3 separate regions of the Homo sapiens genome follow, and regions 1 and 3 are each linked to region 2. Evidence: promoter capture Hi-C in human tissues and cell types (Jung and others, 2019). All regions are on one chromosome and are shown on one strand. The core of a region is centred on a gene start or on the middle of the fragment in contact, and the rest is flanking DNA. Distances in the headings are between cores, read along the strand shown.

Region 1 (3,316 bases), core at 758-3,257, 41 kb before region 2:
ATATTATGGTATTCTATTTTAGTAGTGAAAAATGAGTGAACTGCAGAGTATACACATATATTTAGGTGAATCTCAGAAAATATAAGGTTAAAATAGCAAGGCACCCATAATTACATACAGTACAACATCATTGCTATGAAGCTCAAAGACAATAGAAAACTAAGCATTATAGTCTCTGGGATTACCTGATATAACAATAAAAGAGCAAATCAAAACAAAAGATTAACACAAACAAAATCCAGGATTTGGTGCAGGAGGAAGGGGATCCCTATCAAGGAGGATAGACAGGGGCTATCAACTTCATTGCCTTTTTATGTTTTCACATTTATTCGTAAGTTTTGTTTTGTTATGAGTACCTTCAGCCCTACTAAATATTGACAAACTGCTTTCCAAAGTGATTGCTCCAAATAGTTTAACAAAGCATAGAAGATCCTATTTCCCCACATCATACTCAAAAGTTGGTATCTCTGGTTTCTTAATTTTTTTTGCCTTTCTGATGGAAGGCATTGCTTAAATTTATGTTCTCCTGACTAATGGTGAGGCTGAAATGGGCATATTTTCATATCTCTATTGGACTTCTGGACACACAAATGGACCAATTTCCACTTCTGTTAATTACCTGTTCATTTCATTTGCCAATTTTCCTATTGAATGGCTTTCTTATTATTATTATTATTATTATTATTATTATTATTATTATTATTATTATTTGAGACAGGGTCTTGCTCTGTCACCCAGGCTGGAGTGCAGTGGTGCCATCTCAGCTTACTGCAGCCTCCGCCTCTGGGATTCAAGCAATTCTCCTGCCTCAACCTCCCCAGTATCTGGGATTACAGGCATGCACCACCATGCCAGATCATTTTTTGTATTTTTAGTAGAGAGAGGGTTTCACCATGTTGGCCAGGCTGGTCTCCAACTCCTGACCTCAGGTGATCCACCTGCCTCATCCTCTCAAAATATTGGGAGCCACCACACCCAACCAAATGGCTTTATTATTCATACAGCTTTATAGGGGTTGTGTAAATATTCTAGATCCCAATCTTTTATCAATTGCTTGCATAAAGGTATCCTGCTACATACTCTTAAAATTCTTAAAGTTTTGAATTTGACATTTGGATCTTTATCAAGTGATGTAGGGATCTAATGTTTTTCCTCTTTGGATAGTCGATTTTCCCAGAACCCCTTAAAAACCCATCCTTTCCCTGTTGATTTGTAATATCACTCCTGTGGGATACTGATTTGCATATATCTAAGAGTCTGTTTCTGGGAATTTATTCCATTTCATTAATATATTCATATATGTCTACACTATTATGACACTATTTTAATTACTATATTTTTATATTAAGTCTTGCTGTCCAGAACAGCAAACTTCCTTTCTCAAAATTATCTTAGCTATTTTTGGCTCTTTACTCTTTCATACACATTTTAGGATAAGCTTGTAAATTCTAAAATGCCTTGGGATTTTGATGAACATTGAATTTATAGACTATACTTTTCTAATTAGTATTGCTCATATACAAGAATACTACTGATTTCTTTATGTTAATCATGGACCCAGCAACTTTGCTGGACTCTTTTATTAGTTCTACACATTGTTTATCATTTCTCTTGAATTTTCTATGTTAATCATCATCATCTACAAAAAAGATTACTTTGTCTTTTTTTATGTTCTCATTTTTTTCATGTCATATTGTATTGCTAAGCTATCCAGTAATTGGTGATAATAGATATCCTTGTCTCATTGTTATTTACATAGGCAAAAAATTGGAAAACATCCTAGATGTCTAACAATAGGGAAATCATTGTGAAAATTATGGCATATCTTTATAATAACATTCTGCCATTGAAAAATTCCATTTTCAAAAACATTTACTTTAAATTATTAAAGTACCCACAATAAAATGCTATGTTTAAAAAAGGCATGAGGTCAGGTACAGTGGCTCATATCTGTAATCCCAGCACTTTGGGAGGCTGAGGTGGGAGGATCGCTTAAGCCCAGGAGTTCAAGACAAGCCTGGGCCACCTGGCAAAACCCCCATCTCTACTAAAACTAGAAAAATTAGCTGGTTGTGGTGGCATGAGCCTGTAGTCCCAGCTACTCGGGAGGCTGAAGTGGAAGGATCATCTGAACCTGGGAGGCAGAGGTTGCAGTGAGCTGTGGTCGTACCACTGCACTCCAGCCTGGGTGACAGAGAAACACCCTGTCTCAAAATAAGTAAATAAATAAAAAGCCATAATATCAAACTATGCACGTGATTCAAGTTTTATAAGTCAAATCTATTTTATATATATATGTGTATATATGTGTATATATATATGTGTATATATTATATATATATAAACTATGTCTCATGTTTTGTATTATATATGTAACCCGAGCATCTGCAGTTTTCAAGATTTATGGGGCCATGCCTTCCCATAATATCCAGGCATAAATCCATGCTCCATTCTACAGGACTACAAGAAATCTGGCCCTTTCTGCAATTATGTCTGATCTTCAGAGTGCCCTGGTTTTTGTTTCCCACAGTTCTTGCTCAGTAGCTGCCCCAGGCTTCTTCTTCAGTCACTTTTGCCTGTTTCGTCATTCCTTCCATATGCAATTCCCCCTCTTTTCAGTCCAGCGAAGCCCCAAACATGGAAACAACCCACCACTGTTTTATTCTTCAGAGACCAGCTAACAGGGGCCTCTCATGGTTTAATAAGTTTAAATATGGCTTGAGGATAGCATAGCCAGATTACAAGGCAAGAAAGGAAAACATCAAATTGGAATTAATGTATCATTGCTCTTAAAATCCACTGGCCATGTGTGTTCACAGGGAGTCATGTCCATCCTTCCTCCTTAGCTCCTGGCCTCTGGCCCGCTGCCACGTTGAGAGGCACACTTTTCCCAACTATAGTTTCCTTTTATTCTCTCTCTCCTCCCCTCGTTCCTCCACCCCTACCCCTAGGAGAGCACCCTTGTATTTAAACATGCTAAAGGAATCCAAATAATGCCAGCAAATATAACTATGATTTTTACAGCCAGCCCACAGCAAAGACAGCCTTTACCTTACTAAACACCTCAATTAACATCTCTGTCTAAAGAAGGAGCACAGACTCTGGAGTTGGGATGTCCAGGTTCACATCCCAGCTCCACCACTTACCATTTGTGACTTCAGGCAAGTTGTTTATCTTCTCTGTGTCTTGGTTTCCTCATCTGCAAAATGGGGATAATAGTAAAACATACCATATAGTGTTATTGTGAGGATTAAACAGGATCATGCATTTTAAATAGGACATATTTTAGTGTATATGGTAAACAGCCGTTTCTATT
Region 2 (3,316 bases), core at 754-3,253:
CTCTCTGGGTTTGCTCCGCTGCCCATCCCCGGCCTTTGAGCCTGGAAGAGCGTGCGATGGTGCGCACCGCTTCTCGGTCGGGGGCTCACCCAGAGAGGCGCTGTGGCCAACTCGTGAGCGCACCTGTGTTTAACAGGTTGGAGTAAGTCATGGTTCTTGACCTTCATGAAGTCACAGACCCTTTGCAAATCTGATGCAAGTCACAGTTTCCGGGAAAATGAACCTATATGCCATGGGGCCAGGTTAAAAGCACTTGAGTTAGGAGGCATTTTTTTGGGGGGCGGGAGGGGAGAAGGAAAAACTTATAATACGGGAGCAAAGTCTGCACACCTTCCACCACAGGCACTTCCTGTCCCCGAAATTGCATCGCTCATCCACGTCCCAAGGCCCCCCATGTCTCTGCTCGGGTGGGAAACACTTCGCAACTGTAAATAAAATGCCAAGAGCGTGCGCTCTAAGCCTCTCTCGAACGCACAGCCACACCAAATCCAGTATTTCTGATCGGCCATGGGGCCCTAGGTCCTTCTCACTCGAGGCTCCAGGACTTCGAATTTCACCAGCCGCCCCTCACCCCACACCTCCCCGGACCAGTGCGGCGGAGCGGGGTCGGTTTCCAGGCGCGCGTACCTGGACTCGCGCCTCTGTGAGGTCGATCTTCAGGGCCAGCTCCTCCCGAGTGTAGATGTCGGGGTAGTGAGTCTCCGCGAAGACCCTTTCCAGCTCTTTGAGCTGGGCACTGGTGAAAGTGGTGCGGATGCGCCGCTGCTTGCGCTTCTCGTTGAGGCCGCCGTGGTCCGTGAAGAGTTTGTAAGGAACTAGAGTATGACAGAGGAGACAGAAAGTGAGCAAATCAGCCGGCAGCTCGCCGGCCGTGGAGCTAGAATGTGAGGACTCCAAGGTCAGGTCATACGGCAGCCGCTACCTACACCCGCGCGAGAGAGTTGCCGAGAGAAGCTGCGGGAAGAAACCGAGGAAATTTGTTATCTGCGGAAACCTGGGCTCAAACTTCGGGCTTGGCGGAGTCCTTTCTGGCACAAGCGCCTTTGGGTGGATTGAAACAGCGCGATGTGACGGACTTGAGATAGTGCTTTCAGCAGGAAAAAACCAGAGAGGAAAAAAATCCAAAAACATCAGTCGGAATATCAGGGAGCCAGGAAAGAAGTTACCAAACAGTCCCACTTTGGGAACTTTTCAATTCTCAGAAAGTTGACCCGGCTCAAAAGTTGGGGGAAAGAGCTGCAAAAAAATAATAATAAATTAAAGAAATAATCATAAAAATGACCAGCCAAAGAGGTGTGAGCCGCTGTCGGTTCTTAAAAAAAGAGACACTGCCAGTAATGAGCTTTACTCTTTGTTATTTAATTATTTTCTAAGCTTTACGTCTCATCGCAAAGTAAATAAATTATGCCTATCATTTTGGCAGCTTAAGATAATTTTGTTGGCGGTTCGGGTGTGACTAGGATAGTGTAACCCTGTAAGTGAATTACCCCTCCCTGCAATCGCTTCTAACGTGATAAATTCTTTCATTTGTGTAAGCAAATTTCGTTTGGTAAATACTAAACACATTTCCATTTTCAAATGCAATCAAGGCTTCCTATATACGGGCGGAAAGGCGGCTTCCTCCGCTGAGAAAGCTGAAGGTCCTTACCTGCGGCGTACGGACTGCTCTGGTGGTCCCTGAGGGTGCCCAGGCTGCAGGATCCCGGCGTGAGGGAAGGGCAGCCGGACGTGGCCCCAAAAGTGGTCCTTATCGGGTTATACTGGAAGCCACTGGCCTGGCTGCAGGAACTGAAGTCAGCATAGGCTGAAGCCAGGCTCGAGGTGTCCATCCCAGCCATACAGGACTCGTAGGCAGAGGAATTGAGGTAAGAATATTCCATTTTATACATTGAAAAGGTTCTGGATGGCTCAGCCAAGTGGAAAAATGAAATAAAAGATGGATATGGAGAAGGTGGCTGGAGTGGGGAGATGTGCACAGCTCAACGCCTGCCTCCAAACTGGCCTCCTTACTACCAGCAGAGCCTAGTTTTATGAAAAAGCCTCCTATGAGATGCCTTGTCTGAGGTCTCTAGAGCATATAGTCCTCATAATAAACTTGGCTCTTTCCACTTGGACAATAGCAAAGCGGTTGGTCTTATTGCTGGCGCTTTTTACATGACAATAACTCATCCGTCTATTGGGCTGGCACTGGGGAACTGAGCTGTCCAACCTCCCTATCATTGATTCCTGCATCTCTAATTAGAATTTAATACCACACCATTACGCACCGAGCCCCTGATCCTCCCTTCTAACCAGCTCCCTGCCCTTTAATTCAATCACACTACTTGGAAATAATGAAAGTTGGGTGACGATTCTCCCTGATCCAATTTCCCCGAGCTTTTAAGCCTTTTTAACTGATCATATACCTTAGGCATAAATTGAGATAGTGTGTGTGTTTTCCCCCTTCTTCGTCCTCTTCTTTTTTTCCCCCTCGGTTAGGGAGAAGAAACCTTGATGTCATAGAAAACCTGTTTTGTAAGAGTGTTACACGCTCAATTTAACAACAAGCCTACCCCCCGAAGTGCATGAAATGTTATAAAGGACTGGGACATTGGCAAGACTCAGGCGCCCTGTAACATAGAGTAAGTGGGCCAAGGGGGTTTATGTGAACGATAAGCGGATTTCTTTAAAAATACACCTGGTAGAGGGGGTTAAAAAAAAGAGAGACAGAGAGAAAGCATCTTATAAATTGCATTTCTTCTTGCAGCTAAATGTGCTTTCAAGAGACTCAGGGTATACAGCCACTTAAAAATAATAATAAAAAAATCTGAGGAAAGCTTTCGAATGTGAAACATCTGGATTCTCGACCGTTGTGTTCTTTGCTCTCAGTTCTGTCTGTTTGCATTAGCGCAAGCCTTGGTTGGTTTGAGTTTCTGTGAGGTTGTTCGTTTTAATTACACCATAACTGGCAAGCGAGCATGAAGTGTACCCAAATGTATCTCCTCTTTCATCTCTTTCGGGCGCTCTCCCTCTTTCTCGCCTCTTTTTTTTTTTCAGGTGCCCACAATCCTCCACAGACCCGGGGATTGTGTCTGTTTGCCTTTTAGGTTTGCGGACTGTAGTGAGGGAAATTCTTGCCATGTAAATGCCCAGGCAAGGGCTCCAGGTCGGGCACCTTTCTTGTCCGATTCCTCAGGCTTTTGGGTGCTGGCAGCGAGGCACAGACAAAGGAGCGAGCAGTGATTTGTGGACTTCAGTGGCCCCATGATTTAAGCGGAGGGTAATTTTCATTTGGTTTGTTAGGCCCTAGCAGAATAAGGGAAACTATTTCATTAAA
Region 3 (3,237 bases), core at 380-2,879, 39 kb after region 2:
AAGCTGTTTGTAAATGCACCCTTGACAGGCCACCTTCTGCAGTCTTATAGATATTAAGATAGTAATTGTGATATTAATAATAATAATTACAAGGGAGAGTTGTAATTGAAATGTATGCAAGTCAGCGGTTGGCAAATGCATCTTTAAGAGGACACATTTTGTGCTCTTACAGATATTACAACAAAATTGTGGTATTAATAACAGTGATTAGAAGGGAGATTTGTAAGTGAAATGTAAGCAATCCATTCTTAAATTGAACTTAGAACACAAAACCATTAAAGGGAAATGAGAAAATAAGGCTAGGTTGTTAAGAGTGACACAACTTTCATGTAAAAATTGCCTGCAAAAATGGCAGAGAAATGAAACGAGAGCAAGTGGGAGTTTATATACTTACATGGAATTTTAAATAACTATAAACAAAATGTATTCAAAGGCTAAATTCTAACTTGGGGGAAAAAGTAAAAATAGATTCTAAGCTTTGAGGGATTATTTGCGGTAAACATCATCAACATGTATCAATCCAAGCAAACTATATGCACAGTTAATTTTGAGATTTGGGTAAACCAAATCTAGAATAATTAACCATGAGTATTCTTGGTAATTTAAAGTTTCCTGAATCAAATAGTTTCTAGAAACAATTCATCACTTTAATTTTTTTCCAGTTTTGTCCTAAGAGTCTCTTTTAAAATATAAGGGTTGCAGTTTTACGAACCCAAATTCCAGAAAGAAAAAGGATGACTTACTCTAGTCACAGAAGAAATGTCAGAGTCTATCCTTGAAAGTAGAAATAGGGTGAGTGCCAGGGAGTGGAGGAGCTTAAAGGAATAAGAAGACGAAGTAGACACTTACCAAACAGGCACCCTTTAACCCTACAATCACTTCCTACTATTGGGATACAACTTTTTTCTTTCATAATATTATGTTTTGTTGAAATTAGGTCAGTCTAAGATCTGAGACACACTGAACTGCAAAATGGAGTAATTCTTTTCTGAGTGTCTCGTCAATGGTGTCTCCCAAAGGCTCCAATTAGCTGTCTCAATCTGGTTTTAGGAGAGAATTGTTTTCTATTCTTCATGAGAAAATATACTACAATCTTGTCCCTTGGTTATACTTCTTTTTTCCCCCTATGTCCTCTGTGCTTGTGTTGTATTGCAAATAACAACTGCACAGATCATAGAGTGGTGTTAATTCCCATTTGGAAGCCTCTCAGAGTCATACTTTTCTCTTTTGGGTTCTTAAGACTGAAAAAATGAGAATGCCAAAGGAATTTCTTGTCCTGAAAAAGGAGTATCTTATCATTCACCTGCAAGTGTTGAATAGCTTCTATACACACCGTACAAAGAATAACACATGCTTTTAAATATTCATAAACAAACAAAAAAAGTCACAAAAGCTTCTTGTGTCTCCTGCAAACTTCTCTCTAGCTAGATTCTCCGGCTGGAACAGGTCACCTGAGGGTCGCCTCAAGCCCCAGTATCCTTCAAACAAAAAAGACCTACGTCTCCTTTCTCCAAGCCATGGACCTAGAAGAACAAAAGCTTTTGGGAAGGGTGGGTAAGGGAGGGTTAGTAAATTAACCCATCCGGGCAAAAATGAATGAGTTTAACTAAGTAGAAAATTACACAAAAATAGTCAGAAGCATTTTACAAAATAGAAGAGAGAATATAATTCTTCCATACACTTAGGCTGACAATATCAATATCAGCCAACATGCACTGATTGACAGGCACAATGGTTTCATTTTATTTCATCTTTTCAGCCTCTCTTTGTTAAGGATTATCATCACCATTTTCTAGATAGAAAAACTGAGGTTCTTTCAGGTTAACTAACACAAATCAAAGTTACACAGATAAATGGCAGGGCTGGAAATTTAACCCGGGGTTCAAAAAGACTCTGATTTTAACCGTGCTATTTTACCTCCCTCCTTGTGCCCTCCTGAGCTGGGGTTCACTTGATCGCCCACCCCCACCTCACCCGGGATGGCCCTGAGACAGCTGAAGGGAGAAGCTGAAGGGTCTTCATTGTTCGTGAGGCAGGGCTCGGGCTGGGAGTCCAGCAATCTGCCCTTGGGCAGTGTCTGAAGCCTCAGCCCGAAAAGTCTCTCTCTAACAATCACTGACAGCGTCCAAGGGTTTCTGAGGGCAGAAAGACCCAGCCCTGGGAGTGGGGGAGAGAGAGGAAGAGGAAGATGAGTCTCTTTTACCCCTTATTAGTCATCCTTCAGATTCCTCAGAAGACAGAGAAAGGGGGAGAGAGAGAGAGAGAGAGAGAGAGAGACCTAGCAGCAAAGCAGGATTGGATGTTTCCCTCCCATACCCCAAAAAGGCTCTGATGGTCAAGCCCTTGTAATTTATTACATTGTAATTTAGCCCTACGACGTGTTCAGATGGGCAAAAACCAGATGTGGGGAAAATGCAAACACAAACCTTTCCTGTTACCCTTCTGCAGCCTCCTTGTTCAGTGTTCCTGTAATTTCCTGGGAGCCACATGTTGGGTTCTAGGAAAGTGCAAGATGCCCAGGACCCAGTTTCCACGTGATCCCTTTATGTTAACTGGCTTTTACTTTGTCCACCACCTCACTCCTGGGGTTCCACAATAGGATGCTCTTCCTTACGCTCTCTGAGCTTTAAATATTGGGCATCTCTGCTCTGACATTCTCTACAACCTACATGTTTAACAAGGAGGGGCAAGAGATTGAGTATTTAAATTATGGTACATCCACTCCAGATATTATTTTGACATTTCAGATGCCGCTGGAGGTAATATAATAGCTTCATGCTTATAAAGCTAAGTATAGAGAACAATATTCAAGATTAAACATAAACTCTCATGATGGCATATCCAGGTGGTTGAAGCATGGACTTTGGAGTCAGACTGACCTGAACTAGACTCTGCCCTTTGCCCGCCATGTGACTCTGGGCAAGTTTTTGCACCTTCCATAGCCTCTGCTTTTTCTTCTGTAAGAATGGTGATAGCCAACACAGAGTTGTTATGAGGATTAAATGAGATGATATCAGTTTGAAGTTTCGCAAAGTATCAGGCTTGTTGCAAGCATAAAATAAATGGTACCCCATTATCTTAGAAAGAAAATTGAATGTAGGGGAGGGAAGTGGAAATTCTCCTAAATCCAAAATGTTTGTGAAATTCTCCAAATGAGTGAAAGTGGGGTTAAAAAAAACTCAGGAGAAGGGATTTCTGGGTGGGAGCCACTTACTTGAGATCAGCCTGGTCAGTTTT

What was found. The method cuts DNA at HindIII sites, captures the fragments that hold promoters and counts their contacts. A contact is called where the count stands out against the background at its distance.
Region 1: a fragment that was not itself captured here is called in contact with the fragment with the promoter of PHOX2B in region 2 in 2 of the 25 tissues and cell types used here (aorta and mesenchymal stem cells).
Region 3: a contact is called between a fragment that was not itself captured here and the fragment with the promoter of PHOX2B in region 2, in 4 of the 25 tissues and cell types used here (H1 embryonic stem cells, IMR-90 fibroblasts, aorta and 1 more).

Annotation. Positions count from the first base shown.
Region 1 is chr4:41,705,978-41,709,293 of GRCh38, forward strand. No RefSeq gene overlaps it. Among named protein-coding and RNA genes, the nearest start is that of LIMCH1-AS1, 15 kb to the left of the region's middle. The HindIII fragment of the contact is 4,169 bases long and covers 1-3,316 here.
Region 2 is chr4:41,746,722-41,750,037 of GRCh38, forward strand. It overlaps PHOX2B (paired like homeobox 2B), which reads right to left and starts at 2,004. Exons shown (of 3, transcript NM_003924.4): 1 at 1,649-2,004; 2 at 628-815. The coding sequence starts at 1,889. PHOX2B-AS1 (PHOX2B antisense RNA 1) reads left to right here and starts at 1,628. Exons shown (of 4, transcript NR_187403.1): 1 at 1,628-1,865. The HindIII fragment of the contact is 4,691 bases long and covers 1-3,081 here.
Region 3 is chr4:41,786,079-41,789,315 of GRCh38, forward strand. All of the region lies in intron 1 of PHOX2B-AS1 (PHOX2B antisense RNA 1), which reads left to right. Among named protein-coding and RNA genes, the nearest start is that of PHOX2B, 39 kb to the left of the region's middle. The HindIII fragment of the contact is 3,915 bases long and covers 1-3,237 here.